Linked DNA regions of Homo sapiens: region 2 is linked to region 1. The links are contacts of gene promoters, found by promoter capture Hi-C in human tissues and cell types (Jung and others, 2019). All regions are on one chromosome and are shown on one strand. The core of a region is centred on a gene start or on the middle of the fragment in contact, and the rest is flanking DNA. Distances in the headings are between cores, read along the strand shown.

Region 1 (7,853 bases), core at 2,499-4,998:
CCAGCTAAGTTTTTCATTTTTTGTAGAGAAGGGTCTCACTATATTGCTTAAACTGGTCTCAAACTCCTGGGATCAAGCAATTCTTCTGACTTGGCCTCCCAAAGTGCCTTTTTTTTTTGTCTTTGCTCATTATTGACAATCTCCACTTGATAGATGAGAAAATTATTGACCCTCCTGGTTATTAAAAAGCCTCAGCCAAGGCCAAATAGATAGAAAAGGTGGAATCTGAATTCACAACAAAGTCTGTTGGGATGATGTGAGTCAGAAGCCACTCCTTTTACTACTCCACTCTGCCTTCCCTCAGATCCTGCCCTCACCCCGAAGTCCTTTCTCTTATTACTAGGTGTCTAAATCCTACTTGCTATTTAAGATTCACTTCAAATGAAACTTGTCCATGAAAAATGTCAGCCCTTAGCTCTCAGAGCTTTTATGCACACATTCATGGCAGTTGTCACTCCCTACCCAGTACTGCAGTTATGTATGTACTTTGCCTAGAACCCTTTAGTTCCTTGAAGTCAGAATCCATGCATGATTTCTCTATTTGTCTTACAAATATCATCTCACCCAGCCTAGTGCCATGGATATAGTAGTCATTCAATATTTTATGAATGAATGCAACTGAATCCATGAAAGTGATAGAATAAACTTAGAGAGAGAATCAATGAACTGATCACCATTCTCTGCCAATGACCAGTAATAAATTTTGGTTAAGTTAGTGAAACAGCCAGGAAAAAAAGATAGAAAGGGGAGGGAAGAATAAACTTTCAGAGATTCTCTCTTCTAGCATAAACTTCTAGAAGAAGAGAGATAAGTAAATTGAAAAGACTGGAAACATGGCATGAGAGAAAAGTAGTAGTGGAGCTCTTAGCCTCTCATTTCCTTCTCCTTTCTCACCCTAACCTGCTTTAATGCATATTAAGAATGAATAAAGATATCAGAAAAACCACCTTACAGTATCCATCTGCCCCCCATTCTTTAGGATTTGGAGAAAGGACTTTTGGGTGAGAGGATTGAAGATGTGAAGGGAGTGGACTTTCCTGTAAAGATTGTTAAGTGGGAGCCATGAGTATGGGCCCCAGAGGAAAGGCAACATGTTTGATGACTTAAAGTTACTTTCTGGTATACTCCATAAGCTAAAGCAGAAGATGGGTTTCTATATTAAGTGGCCCAGTTTACCAGAGAGGCTTCAGTTCCATCTCTCAGCACAGATGTGAGTGAAAATCACAGTTAATTAAATATTTAGTTTTTTTTCTAATAAAGGTAATTTATTTAAAGCTTGATTTTAGGAGATAATTGAGGGAATTCTTTTGAGATCAGTACAACAACTACTACAAGAGAACACAGCTAGGTAAATGGAAAGAGCATACGATTTAGAATCTGTAAATATAGAATTGAAGTCCTTTTTTTTGTTCGTTTTGTTTTGTTTTGTTTGTTTGAGACAGGGTCTGTAGCCCAGGCTGGGGTGCAATGGTGTAATCATGGCTCATTGCAGCCTTGACCTCCCAGGCTCAAGTGATCCTCCTACCTCTGCCTCTCAAGTAACTCATGCCCAGCTAATTTATTTTTTGTAGAGTCGGGGTCTTGCTCTGTTGCCCAGGCTGGTCTCAAACTCCTGGGTTCAAGCAATCCTCCTCCCTCAGCCTCTGAAAGTGCTGAGATTACAGGTATGAGCCACTGCACCTGGCCAGGATTGAAGTGCTGACTCTAGGCATGTCCTTTGGCAAGTCACTTAATTCTTTTGGGCCTCAATTTGTCATTTGTCATGTGAGAATAGAAATAATGCCTATTTATTTCCTTATTCTCTGAAGACAGATTCATTGAGTATTTACTAGATGTTAGGCACTGGATTTGTTTGGGCCAGGGTTACTGAAGAAAGAATTGAGATGTGTAGGGAAACCTGTAAAGTGCAAAGGACTGCACTAGCTACAGTTAAGAGTTTTTACAAAGATAATCTTTGTACTTTGATGTCTCAGTCTTAGAAATAAACTATTTAATCCCAGCACTTTGGGAGGCCAAGGTGGGTGGATCATGAGGTCAGGAGATCGAGACCATCCTGGCTAACACAGTGAAACCCCGTCTCTACTAAAAATACAAAAACTTAGCAGCGCCTAGTGGCAGGCACCTGCAGTCCCAGCTACTCGGGAGGCTGAGGCAGGAGAATGGCATGAACTCAGGAGGAGGAGCTTGCAGTGAGCTGAGATCGCACCACTGCACTCCAGCCTGAGTGACAGAGTGAGAAAACATCTCAAAAAAAAAAAAAAAGAAAGTATTTAATATGAGTCCTAACATCTCCCTCCAGAAACTACAAAAAGAATTGTGATGGTTTATTTAATCTTTTGTAAATGATTTCTTTTTAAATTCTCAGCAATGGTGCAAAGACGATTGTTCAATTTATAATTCAAATGTTATTTGCCTGGGAAATATATTATCTAGAAATCGACTTAGTAATCAACAGTTTTTTAAAAACCTACAAAAGTAGAAATGCAAAATGTAGACACATTTAAAGCGAGCCAAGTACTATTATATTATTTTAACTTTAAAATGATGACTCCTGTGGCAAGTGATTGCCCAAGTTATAATGAGTTCAACAAGCTTGTTCTTGTGTGATTTCTAACACCACATTTATATTTGAATAGTGAAAGGGCTCCTTTCTGGTAAATCTAATTTGCTGAGTGGACATGATGCAAAAGATAACCTATCTTGACTTGAATATGTTTTTAGGGTTTTGAGGTTTCAAGTTTCAAGAAAATACAAGGAATTGAAATTCCAGACAGAAAGACTCAATGCCTCAGGAAGATATATTTATAAATCATTTATATTAATTTGGGGCAAGTGAAAATTTCTGTAGTTGTAAAATATAGTAGCTGTAATGACATATTTTGGCCTTTAAAGTGCCACTTTAATAATTACAACTAGATGAACTTGAGAAATAATTTGAATGTTGTATTAACTTAGAAACTTTCTATTCATTGGATGTATCCAAACTAAATGTCATCTTAATTTTCTCTTAATGGAGAATTTTAATATTATTATTATTGCTATTATCATTATGTTGGTACTTTACTGGTTCTCTGTAGCTTAATCATTGGGATGCAGATTTAAGCATTGTTGTTCCTGGAATATGGCAGCCCATTTCATTTACTCAGAAAAATGTTAAATAGCAGGATGACAGAAAGGTGAATATTATACTATTAAAAATAATTTTATTTACAGCACTTGTCATAGTAACACTAAGAAACAAACACTAAAATGGAATATGAAACCTCTGTGTTTTCACAAATTTAACTGTTCTCTGCAACTAAATTAACAAATTATCTTGATTTGAAATGGAACTTATAGTCTGTAATAAAAGGTGGTATAACCAACTATAGTTTCAGGTATATTTCTTTTAGAAACAGGTTATGCTGCTTCCTAATTTGCAGTTATGTTTGTTGAACTCCCGTATAGGTTTCTAGCATAGTTTGAGCTGGTATAGTTCTCTTCACACCAATGGGAGCCTTTCCTGAAATTACATTTTGTTCTTGTTGTTTTAAGTACTTTTACATACATGATTATGCCCACAGGTAACAGGAAACCAGTGTTTCAAAAGAAAACTTGATCACATTGCTAGATAATACAGGTATCCTAACCAAGTGCGTGAGCGCCCAGAGGCTTTCTGCTGCTGCCAGAAGTACATATTTTTTTGATTGGTAAGAACTGCCAGATGACGCTTCATGAAATATAAATGCAACAAAGACTCAGAGAGCTCAATAAAAACCTTCCACCCGTCAGTCTAGAAGGATAAGAGAAAGAAAGTTAAGCAACTACAGGAAATGGCTTTGGGAGTTCCAATATCAGTCTATCTTTTATTCAACGGTAGGTAATTTCCTTTTGTTTTGTTAACTTTATATCAGTGTAAAATGTGAATAGAATTTATTTTCTCTGCATTAGAGAGAAGTTGGCTTCTAACAGTTGTTCTTTATGACAAAGATCAGAGTAATGAATCTGTGGATTAATTTAGTTTCTTATGTCCTGTATGTTCCTTTCCTAATATATTTTGACACCTTTTTTGAGACCTCCAGAATGTTTGCTTTATACAATTGAAGAGTAATTGATACATTTAGCTACTATACTATAGGGTTCTTATTTTTTAATTAATATGTAAATGTATCAATGGTCTTAAATATTGGGTTTTTATTTGCTTTAATCCTAATATAGTCAATGGAATGGATGAGAAACTGTAAGTATGTTGCCCTAGTCACGTTATGGATTTCAACTGTAATAAATTAAAAAAATAGAAATTGGAATAAACAGAATAAGAATACTTTCCATCTGTTGCTTGTACATAGAAGGAGGCTCTCTGTTAAAGATGCTTTTGCCCCCTTAATACAGCAATGACAGCACTGACCGAAGAGGCAGCCGTGACTGTAACACCTCCAATCACAGCCCAGCAAGGTAACTGGACAGTTAACAAAACAGAAGGTATTTTCTTCCCATTTTCATATTTCACAAGACTTTTCTAAAACTTGGGAGAGAAATTTGGATTGTGATAAAAGCAATATTGGCCATTTTTAATATATATTTTATTATTAGATAATCAGCTCTTTTAGCAGGATGCTGTTAAATTGAAGTGACAGATAAATGTGCCAGGAAATAATTGCCTTTTTAAAAGGAGGAAGTTAAGCAAATGAGACAAAAGCTGTCTTCAGTTACTGTCTTGAATGTGAAACAGGCCACATTTTCTGCTTCATTTCTGCTTGGTTCCCAATAACCCCTGTGTGTACAGAGACAGTTTGTCCCCATTTTGGCATTCTTGATGAGCAGCATTATATTTTGATCTGTGATTATAAGCTTTGATGCCAAAGACATTATGGCTACAAGATGAACAGCACTTTCCCTCATCTTTGGAATGACCTTTTTTTCTTGTTTGCTTTGGAGTTTTTGTTGTTATTTTAGCATATGCTGTATTTCCTAACCACTTGTACCCAATTTTTGTTGTTGATGGTAATGATATATTTTCTTTTGCACTTAATTATTATCACAGTGGCTTCTGGATGCTCTTGAGCATCAGCGTTCTTTCTCTAATCTGTTTAAACTCTTAGAGGTGAAACTTGGAAAGCTTGTTGCTTACCAAGACCTGTGACTGAGTGGTTATGATTCTTCTGCAAATCGCATCCTGATTGCTATGTGAAGGCTGGCAATTTGATTTAGGACAGAGGAAACAATGTCTTGCACTCAGAGTCAGGCAAATAAAGGAAGATTGTCATATCTCAGTGTTCTTCATGTCACCAATAATTTAAAATTTTAAATGATTGTCTCGAAATATTTTACCCATTTGATTTTTTGAATATCTGTTGATTTGCAAAACGAAATCAATGTGGGTTATAGAATAACTTTTAGCCAACTATTTGTCTTCTAAGCCTTCAAACAAAGAGGAAACACCTTATTATAATTATTATATTCAGTACTATATTATACTGGCCTGGCACAGTGGCTCGTGCCTGTAATCCCAGCACTTTAGGAGGCCAAGGCGGGCAGATCACCTGAGGTCAGGAGTTTGAGACCAGCCTGGGCAACATGGTGAAACCCTGTCTCTACTAAAAATACAAAAATTAGCTGGACGTGGTGGCGCATGCCTGTAATCCCAGCTACTCAGGAGGCTGATGAAGGAGAATTGCTTGAACCCAGGAGGTGGAGGCTGCAGTGAGCTGAGATGGGGCCATTGCACTCCAGCCGGGGTGACAGAGTGAGAGTCCGTCTCAAAAAAAAAAAAAAAAAAAAAAAAGAAGATAATATACTGCAGAAAATTAAAGAAGCATAGTTTTCTCTCAATGACTGACTTCGTAATAGCATGCTCAGTACTAAATTTTTTTTTCTTCCTTAATGGTGAACAGCAAATAAAATATTTTGAGTTACAAGTAATAATAATGGTAAAAAGGAATCCAATACAGTCATCCTCCGTTATTGGTTGAACATTGGTTCCAAGACCTCCTCCTCCTGCCCAGAGGGTACCAAAATCCACAGATGCTCAAATCCCTTATATAAAATAGTGAAATATTTGCATATAACCTATAGACACACACCCATGTACTTTAAATCATCCCTTGATTAGTTATGCCTAAAACATTGTAAACGCTATGCAAATAGTTGTTATACTGCATTGTTTAGGGAATAATGACAAGAAAAGTCAGTACATGTTATGTACAGATGCTTTTTTTTCAAATATTTTCCCTATGAGGTTGGTTGAATCCACAGATGTGGAACCTATGAATACAGAGGTACAACTGTATATCATTTCTGTATTTTTCCTTTGCTTTCTTGATGGAGAACTTTAATTTTTCCTTTTGTTTTTTATCTAACTTAAAAATATCAATCTAGTATCTTAGAAAAATTTTTATAAAGTTATGATCATTCTCATTCTTAGGGGAAAGATGAGTCTCTCTGGTATAACTTTTCTTTAGAAATGGCTTAATTCTCACATTTTTCTACCAAATCTAGTTTCAGGCTTAGTTAATCGAACTTGTTTAGTCTTGAAATAGAAAGCACCCAGCACAGTTTATAATGGAAAATTCTCACTGCCTGAGAATTAATTATTAAAATGATAAATTATATTCATCCTATTCAACAAAATGAACGTGAATTAGAAGATAATGTGTGTTCTCACCAAAATAAAGTAATACAACATAGTATTTTGTTTGTAATCTTAACATCTAAAGATTTAGCATTTTTAATATAAAAAAGAATGCCTTTTAAAACTGTTTTTTCCCTACAAACAAGTAAGATTCTCTTAATCTTAGCAAGGCAAATATGGTATACCTTTATCATAATGATGAGGAAATATGTTTATTTATAAAAATGACAAGTAAAATCCCATTAATTCTGTTTGAGAAACATTTAAGAATCAATAAAGTATGCCCCAAAGGACTCAATTAGGCAATTTTACCTAAGGGTCACTCCCACTGCATAAACACCAAGAATGGCATAGGTCTGTCTTTTGTACATCAGAGAGAATCAGGAATAAGAATCTTGTTTATTATCTCACAAGTGTAAATTCAAATCTTCGCAAGTGCTGACTTCTCAGGTGTAAAGGAAGAAAATCGAAATATTATGTGAGATCTTCTATGTTAATTAGTATTCAGACACAAGTCTGGGAAGCATCGCTCAAAATAACCTGCTAAGACTAGAACCAATGCTGCCACCTTTTGGTGAATTTGTTGCCTTTTCTGTCTTACTGCATTGCTTCTAAAAAGTGAAACAATCATCAATCCACCTCCATCCCCTAATTAATTAATAATATGTCATATGTCTAGATGATATTAACCCAGCCCTTGTGAATACAACCTGCTAAGAGAATCAATAGTTTAAAGGACACAGCACCACCCCCAAATATCCTTAAAATTAAAAATTTATTTACATATGTATTAAAAATTTACCATAAAAGTAAGACACATTTCATTTGCTAACATTGTATCTCCTTTTCCTAGCTGACAACATAGAAGGACCCATAGCCTTGAAGTTCTCACACCTTTGCCTGGAAGATCATAACAGTTACTGCATCAACGGTGCTTGTGCATTCCACCATGAGCTAGAGAAAGCCATCTGCAGGTAAATGCAAAGAAATATCCAAGTCCTAGAGACAGGAGATGAGTTTATGTCTCTGTTGTTTCATATAGTACATTTCCACACTTTTCTCTCTTTAGTTTAAAAGGGTGCATAATCTGAACATGACTTGACAGGCCTCTACATATTTGAATATCTAAGGAGTCTTTTGTCCAAACTATTTAATTCTCATTAATTAAAAACATGGTTCCCAGATTAGCAGCATCTCTTGAACCTGGGTGCTTGTTAGAAATGCAGGATCTATGCTCTACCCC
Region 2 (7,853 bases), core at 3,328-5,827, 43 kb before region 1:
AAAAAATCTAATAAAGGGTATCAACTGAAAATAAATAGAAAAAAATATATATATATATACTCTGTTGTAAAACACTAGAATTATTCCCATTTATATAAAGGTGGGACAAAGATAACAACTATTACTTATATTTTCCAGCATTGTATTGTTGGTGTTCCTGGCTAATGCAACAAGTTGACAGACATGAGTTAGGAGACAAAGACTTCTAAGAGGAGACGAGGTGGTGTTCTTTGAAGGTATGATAGTTTATCCATAAAGCTCAAGATAATCAACTGATAAAATATTAGAACTAATGAGAAAGTTCAGCAAGGTTGCTGAATACAATAACAACGTAAATGTAGGTAGTATCTACAGATATCAATAATATATAATTAGAAAATGTAATAGAAAATATATTCCACTCACAGTAGTAATAAAACTATAAAATTCATTGGAATAAAACTAAACAGAAACAAGAATATAGAAAGAACTTTTCAAATATATAATCAAAGGGAAAAGTCTGAGCAAGTAGAGCTCTAACCCATGTTTTTGCGTGGGAGAATTTATTCACGTAAGAATGCTATTATTGCCAAATAAAGCAATAAATTCCATACCATCCAAAGGCTCATGATTTTGCACAGGAGTGGAAAGATTTATTCCACAAAAGCATTATCTTATAAATAATGTGACCATATGTCATGATTTATTTGAAATAGTTCAAAATTATGCCTAGCAACTTGTAATTATTATTAGCATCCACATATTTATAAGAATAAAGATTAATTGGAAGAAAAAGCGTAAGAAGACTTTTTCCTTCTGCTTCTTAGCTTTCCCACTTGCAAGTTGTGTGAGCTTGCTACCTAAGTTATAAGTTACTCAAGCTCTCTGTTCCTCAGTTTCCTTACCTCCGAAGTAGGGATAATAACATCTACATCATATATTGTTCTAAGGTCAAATAGAGATAATACGTGTAAAGCACTTAGAACGCTGACTGACTCAACAAATGTTAATTATTATGAACAGAGTAGTATTTTATTCTGTCTCAAATCATATTATAAAGAACTGGTAATTAAAATTAAAGCATAGGCATAAGAAAAGACAAATAATGGGGAAGGATGAAAAAACAAACACACATTCGTATGTGTGAATCTATGTAAATAGGGTAGTGTCATTAAACACTGGGGAAAAACTAAATACTTCAATCAATAGTATTAAAACATTTGACTTCCCATTTAGGAAAAAAATCTAGTTAAACTCCTACTCACCCCATACATACAAATATATTTCAGATGAGATAAAGAACATAAATTAAAAACAACAAAAATAAAAATTATTGGAGAACTTAATAGAACTTGGTCATAAATTTAGAGCAGGTAGGATTTTCTTAGAAAAGATACACACAAATATACAGACAAATATGTGAGTAAAAATAAACAGAAAAGCTGGAGGTATATATATATAATTCCTAAAATCTATGGAACAAGTGCCTCTTAGAGTTAAAATTTTAGCATTTTATTGGGAGAAAATATTTGCATTATACATAACAAAGAATTAGTATGCAGCATATATAAATATGTTTTTAAAAATATGGTTGAAAATACAAAAACCTAACTTTTAAAAGAACAATTTATAGGAAAGGATATTTAAATGGCTAATACACATGTAAAAATTGCTCAATGTCACTGATAATCAGACAATTGCAAATTAAAGCAAAACAAGACACTGTTTGCACACATCAGATTGGCAAAAAATGAAAAGCTTGATGATATCAAATGTTGGCAAGGATCCAGGGAAGCACATACTTGCATATGCTGCTGATGAAGTTATGCTTTATTATAGTCCCTCTAGAAGGTAATTTGACAATGTTATGAAATCTGAAAATGTGCACTTCATATGACCTAGAGATTCCATTATTTTTCCACATATCTAAAAATACCTGACCTGTATATTCAGAAATCTGTATTACAGCTCGTTGGTGATAGTAAATAATTGAAAGCAGCTAAAACATTCACCAATAGAGGAATAGAGTGTGTACTTATCTCTCAACTCACCAAGTTGTTTACATTAAATATGGACAGCTTTCTGTATGTCAGTTACACCTTAGTAGTTTCAAAATTTTAATCCAAATGTAATCCTATATATATATGTGTATATATGTATACATATGTATGTATATTTATGTGTGTGTGTGTGCTGTCTTATTTCTACGTTCTCTATTCTGTTCCATTGGTCTGTGTGTCTGTTTTTGTACCAGTACCACGTTGTTTTGGTTAATGTAACCCTGTAAATATAATTTGAAGTCGGGTAGCATGATGCCTCCAGTTTTGTTCTTTTTGCTTAAGATTGCCTTGGCTATTTGAGCTCTTTTTTGGTTCCATATGAATTTTACAATTGTTCTCTCTAGTTCTGTGAAGAATGTCAACATTCTAAAATCTATAAATTGAATCTATAAATTGCTTTGGGCAGTATGGCCATTTTAATGATATTGATTCTTTCTATCCATGAACATGGAATGTTTTTCCATTTTTTTTGTGTCATCTCTGATTTCTTTGAGCAATGGTTAGTAGTTCTCCTTGTAGAGATCTTTCACCTCCCTAATTAGCTGTATTCTGAGGTATTATATTTTACTCTTTTTGTGGTAATTGTGAATGGGAGTTCATTCCTGATTTGGCTCTTGACTGGTGTTGTTATATAGGAATGCTAGTGATTTTTGCATATTAATTTTGTATTTTGAGACTTTGAGGAAGTTGTTTTTCAGCTTAATAAGCTTTCTGGCTGAGACTGTGGGGTTTTCTAAATATAGGATCATGTCATCTGCAAACAGGGATAGTTTGACTTCCTATTTAGATGCCTTTATTTCTTTCTCTTGCCTGCATAATTCAGTATATTAAAAGGGCAATGCATCATGACCAAATAAGGTTTATCCCAGAAATCTAAGATTAGTCTAACCTTTGAAAATCTGTCCATGTAATTTACCATATTAGCAAACTAAAACAAACAAAAATAAAAATACCTTAATAATCTCAGAAATCACATTTGACAAGATCTATCATCCATTCCTGATAAAAAAAAATTATCAGCAAACTGGGAATAGAAGGGGACTTCCCAACCTGATGAAGGGCATCTGTGAAAACCTTACAGTTTTCATACTTAATGGTGAAAGAATGAATGCTTCCCCCTAAGATCAGGAATAAAACAAAGATTTTCCTTCCCACCACATCTATCAGCATTGTATTGGCAGTCCTATTCTATACCATCAGGTAAAGAAAAGTAATATAATGTATACAGACTAGGAAGGAGGAAGTAAAACTGTCTTTGTTTTCATATATGATTATCTATTTAGAAAATCTAATGTAATCTATGAAAAACCTACTAAAATTATAAATTAGCAAGCTTACAGAATATATGGTCAACATAATGACATAATTATGAATACCTATGTACTCAACCCCTCCAACCCAAGAACTAGACTATTCCAAGTAACTTACATCTAGTGTGTGCTTCTCCCTTATTCGATTACCATGCTTTAAAAACATTTCAATATTTCATATATATATTATATTTCATGGATGCATAATATAGATAAAGGAATGAGAAAAAATTAGAGTGTTAGAATATATATCCACTTAGTAAGAGATAAGAATGAGGATTAAGTTTGAGAGATGCTTTATCTATATCTGTTATTCTAATATTTTTAAGGGCAGTGAATTTATAGTTCAATTGTTTTAATATTTTTAAGTACAAACTTAAAAAAAAAGACTTGAGGTAAATATTCCAAAGTGCTTATTATTGGTTGAGTTTCAGCAGCGTTAATATTAATGGATTTCTTTTCTTTTTTTACTACTTTCTGTTATTTGTTTCTATACCTTAATATGTTATTTAATTTTCTAGAAACAAAAAGTAAATTGATTTATTTGGGATTATGAATGAGAAGTTCTTGTGTACAGTGATTTGAAGGAGTAATAAGAAACCTTCCATATTATCACATGTGGAGATATTAAGATCTATTGGAAAACAAATTCACTGTACATGTGTAACACATTTCAATTGATGAGTATATATCAATTTATAACCCGTATTTCAAGTATTTTAGTTATAACTGAGAGTAAGAACTTTTTTTTTTACTTCATGCTATTGCTGTGGAAGAAATCATGTCAAAACTCAGTGGCTTAAAACAATAGTCATCATTATTCTAACCCACACATCTATGGTTTGGTGGGGGATTGACACACTAGGCTGAGCTCAGCTAATCTCAGATTGATTCATTCATTTGTTTGTAATTCAACTGGCTTATTTATGTGTCTGCAAGTCTGCCAGGGCTCTGCTCTAATGTGGGTTTGTGTGATGCACTGTAGCTGCTCCACACGTGTCTCATCCTTATCCAGAGACCAGCATACAGGCCCAGATATGACCTTCTCATGGCCATGGCAGAAATGGCAGAGGGTAAGTGGAAACGTGCAAGACCTCTTAATAATGTGTGAATAACTGTGGCATACTCTCAGTGTGGATTGGCTATGATATTTTTGATGTGCCAGGCAATGTGCTACACACTTTATATACATTATTCATTTACTTCTCTATCCAGTCTTATGAAGGACTACTATTATCGCAATTATACAGGGAAGGAAACAGGATTACATGGACACTTGTCCAAGGTTATTGAGTTATTAAGCTGGAAAACCTGAAATCTGAACTTGAGCCTTAGATTTTAGCCAAGGAACAAAGGTACCTAGACAAGCACTTAAAATTGCCATGGCTAGTATTTTTGTCATGCATACTATTTTTGTCATGAATAATATTAAAATACATTGTAAAATAGTACTTTGGTATATCATATGATTTGCTAAGCTTAATATTCTCTATATCAACATTTGTCCAGCAAGATTTCGAGAGCAATACTTTGTATGATGGGTGAAGAAGAAATGCAGTTTGCCTAATTTGCAGATGTGGAGACGTCATTACTTTTTTTCTTTTAACAAACAAAGCACCATTTAATTTTTCTTTCAAAGTGCTTTAAATATGTTGAAGTCAATTATTTATGTGTTAGATTCTGATATTTGTATATCTGATTTAATTTTTAGAACAGTTCAGTAATTTGATAACCAATGATTCAGACCATTGTATCTGTACACATCCATTAAGCACTCCTTTCTCAAACTTTATTGACTTTTTCATTACAACCTTTGAAAGTTACTGGAACATAGCAGAAACTCAAGCTTCATCTATGTGGACTCTTATGTTGTTCCAGAGGTTTCATATAAGTATCAAGACATGGTAGGGGCATTTAGTTTTCACTATTATGTTTCTAAACTCTCATCAAATGAGCTAGTCATCATCTGATTTGGTCCTTGTCCAACTGCCTACACATGCACTTGCAGAAGTGCTCCTTTTTGCCCAATTGCTTTAATCTCTCTATTACCCTGTCATCCTTAGGTACACAGGAAATGCTAAGACAGTGTCTAAGGCATCTGCTTTAGCCATCCTTCCATCTATTTAATTATTTGGGACCATACCACCTTTCCAACCACTACACAGGCTATAGGAAAAATATATTTTTGTTTTTGGATTTCCAAAACCAAAACTAGGGATTTTGCCAGTTCTCCAAGACACAGCCCAGGGAGCATTGACTAGCAACATCTCCCTGGGAACCTCTGAAGTCTAAGCTCTCACCACTTCTCCAACTCTCCTGACTTTTCGAACTCAACCCTTCCATTTTCTTGTTTGAGTCTCTCTGTTCTTCTAAAGTGCTAGGCTTTTGAAATCTTGAAGCTAAGAAGTAAGGTCTCCACTTCTCTCCTGTCTATCACTTTTCTGAGTCAATCAGCACTGAATGCCTTAGCTGCTGCTAGAATGCTTAAAGGTTGTAGGAGAAGGGAAAATCTAAGACTGCATAAGAGGGGAATACTAGGGATTGTAAAAAAGTAATTTGTTTTCTAAATATCAGGCCTCATTTCTTTGTATTATCTAGACTATCTGGCTTTCAGGAGGTACATCTTTAAAAGAAAGAAATTGGACTAATTGGTTTTTCAAGTTGAGCTCTGGGGAACCTAAAGGGATTTGGCTGGTAGCAGAGCTCCCCTCTACCTCTTTTCAACTAATATACCTCTCCTTGCTTTGATCCTTTTACACACTGAGCTTGGTAAACAATTTTCCTTTAAATAAATGTTTCTAAAATGTTTGAAACCCATTCCATTCGACTTTAATACTCTGTGAATAACATGACAGTTGGTAATATAGACCCTTGCCTATTGTCCCTACTGGCCTGCAGTCTCTCCTCATTCCCCAAGTGCATTGGTGTCTGTTTGCAGGAAATACATTTCTTTTTTCTATTCTATTCTTTTCTTTTCTTTTCTTTTCTTTCTTTCTCTTTCTCTCTTTCTTTCTTCCTTTCTTTCTCCTTTCTTTCTTCCTTTCTCTTTTTTCTTTCTTTCTTTCTTTCTTTTCTTTCTTTCTTTTCTTTCTTTCTTCTTTCTTTGACAGCATATCACTTTGTTGCCTAGGCTGGTGGCGCCATCGTGGCTCACTGTAGCCTCAATCCACCGCCCACCCCTGCCCACCCGGGCTTAAGCAATCTTCCCACCTCACCCTCCCAAGTAGCTGGGACCACAGCCATGCACCACCATGTCCAGCTTTGTTTGTTTGCTTGTTTGTTTGTTGCTGTTTGTAGTGACAAGGTTTCCCTATGTTGCCCAGGCTGGTTTTGAACTCCTGGGCTCTGGCGATCCTCCCACCTTGGCCTCTTAAAGTTCTGGGATTACAGGTGCCCTCAGAGAATAAGGTTTGATTGATGGGAGGAAGAAAAGAGAAGCACACATTTGGACCCCACAGGTCCATTGACTTTGCAGAAATATGGTCCAAGGCAGAAGGTGATGGAACTACTTGAATGATCCTATGAATTTCTGAATATAAGAGGATTCCAAAGCCCTAGACGATCCAATATGGCACAGAGCAGAGCCCTACTGGCCCTGAGCTCTGTAAGGAACCTAGCACCATCCTGGTACCACAAGGAATAGAAGCTTTGGGGGCATTCAGATATTGTCCTTGGCATGAATATTATTCTCATGACAGGCATGATAGGCATATCTGTTCAGATAGGAACCAAAGAAGCCAGAGAAAAGAAAAAGAACAGGAAATGTTCTGTGGTCACTGCCACTGACTCACTGGGTTGTAAACACTTTTTGAGGATTTCTAGAAATAACAGGAGGATACCTGGGAGAAGACACTGAGGTTTTTGTATTACTAATGTAGGCTCTATTTATCTAGGATGCATTTAGCCATTATATTACTGTCTGCAAAGCAAATAATGCTGAAGAAAGTTTTTCTAATCTAGAAAGAAGCATACATTCACACAAATTCCACTCTAATTATTATCTTTATTTATGTAGTAGGACAATTTCCAGCTGAAGAAGTGATCCACCTGAGTAAGCATTTCCATGGTGTTCCTTTTATATCTGAGTTAGAGTTCTGGTTTTGTTCCCAGCCTTACCTCTGACTCATCATTGTGAAACCAAGAAATCATTTAGCCTCTCAGCACCTCAAAATCTTTCTTCTGTGAATGAGGATAATGGGTAAACCTTTTCTTGCTTCACTGAATTGTTGTGAAGTTTAATTAGATAATGTTTACACAGTCCTTTGAACTCTACTAATTAAAGTGATGTGTAAATATGGCGCTTCCTTTTATCAGGATGGCTTGACTGAGCCATTTCATGAAGAGTTACAGATGACTATGATAGGAGTATCCATAGGGAAGTGATTAATTTTTTTTAATTCATGTAAACTCAATTCTGAGATTATCAAATACACATATGAAAATATCCAGTTGCGGCTGTAATTAGGGAGAATAAGGATATAGCCTCCCACTAGCTGAAGAGCTA

The links. Contacts are between HindIII fragments. The study calls those that stand out against the background at their distance.
Region 2: a fragment that was not itself captured here is called in contact with the fragment with the promoter of EPGN in region 1 in 1 of the 25 tissues and cell types used here (mesenchymal stem cells).

The regions. Positions count from the first base shown.
Region 1 is chr4:74,304,722-74,312,574 of GRCh38, forward strand. It overlaps EPGN (epithelial mitogen), which reads left to right and starts at 3,749. Exons shown (of 5, transcript NM_001270989.2): 1 at 3,749-3,855; 2 at 4,372-4,461; 3 at 7,464-7,584. The coding sequence starts at 3,813. The region is part of intron 2 of LOC105377276 (a long non-coding RNA gene); the gene reads right to left. The HindIII fragment of the contact is 5,515 bases long and covers 1,934-7,448 here.
Region 2 is chr4:74,260,974-74,268,826 of GRCh38, forward strand. All of the region lies in intron 6 of MTHFD2L (methylenetetrahydrofolate dehydrogenase (NADP+ dependent) 2 like), which reads left to right. Among named protein-coding and RNA genes, the nearest start is that of EPGN, 44 kb to the right of the region's middle. The HindIII fragment of the contact is 3,036 bases long and covers 3,060-6,095 here.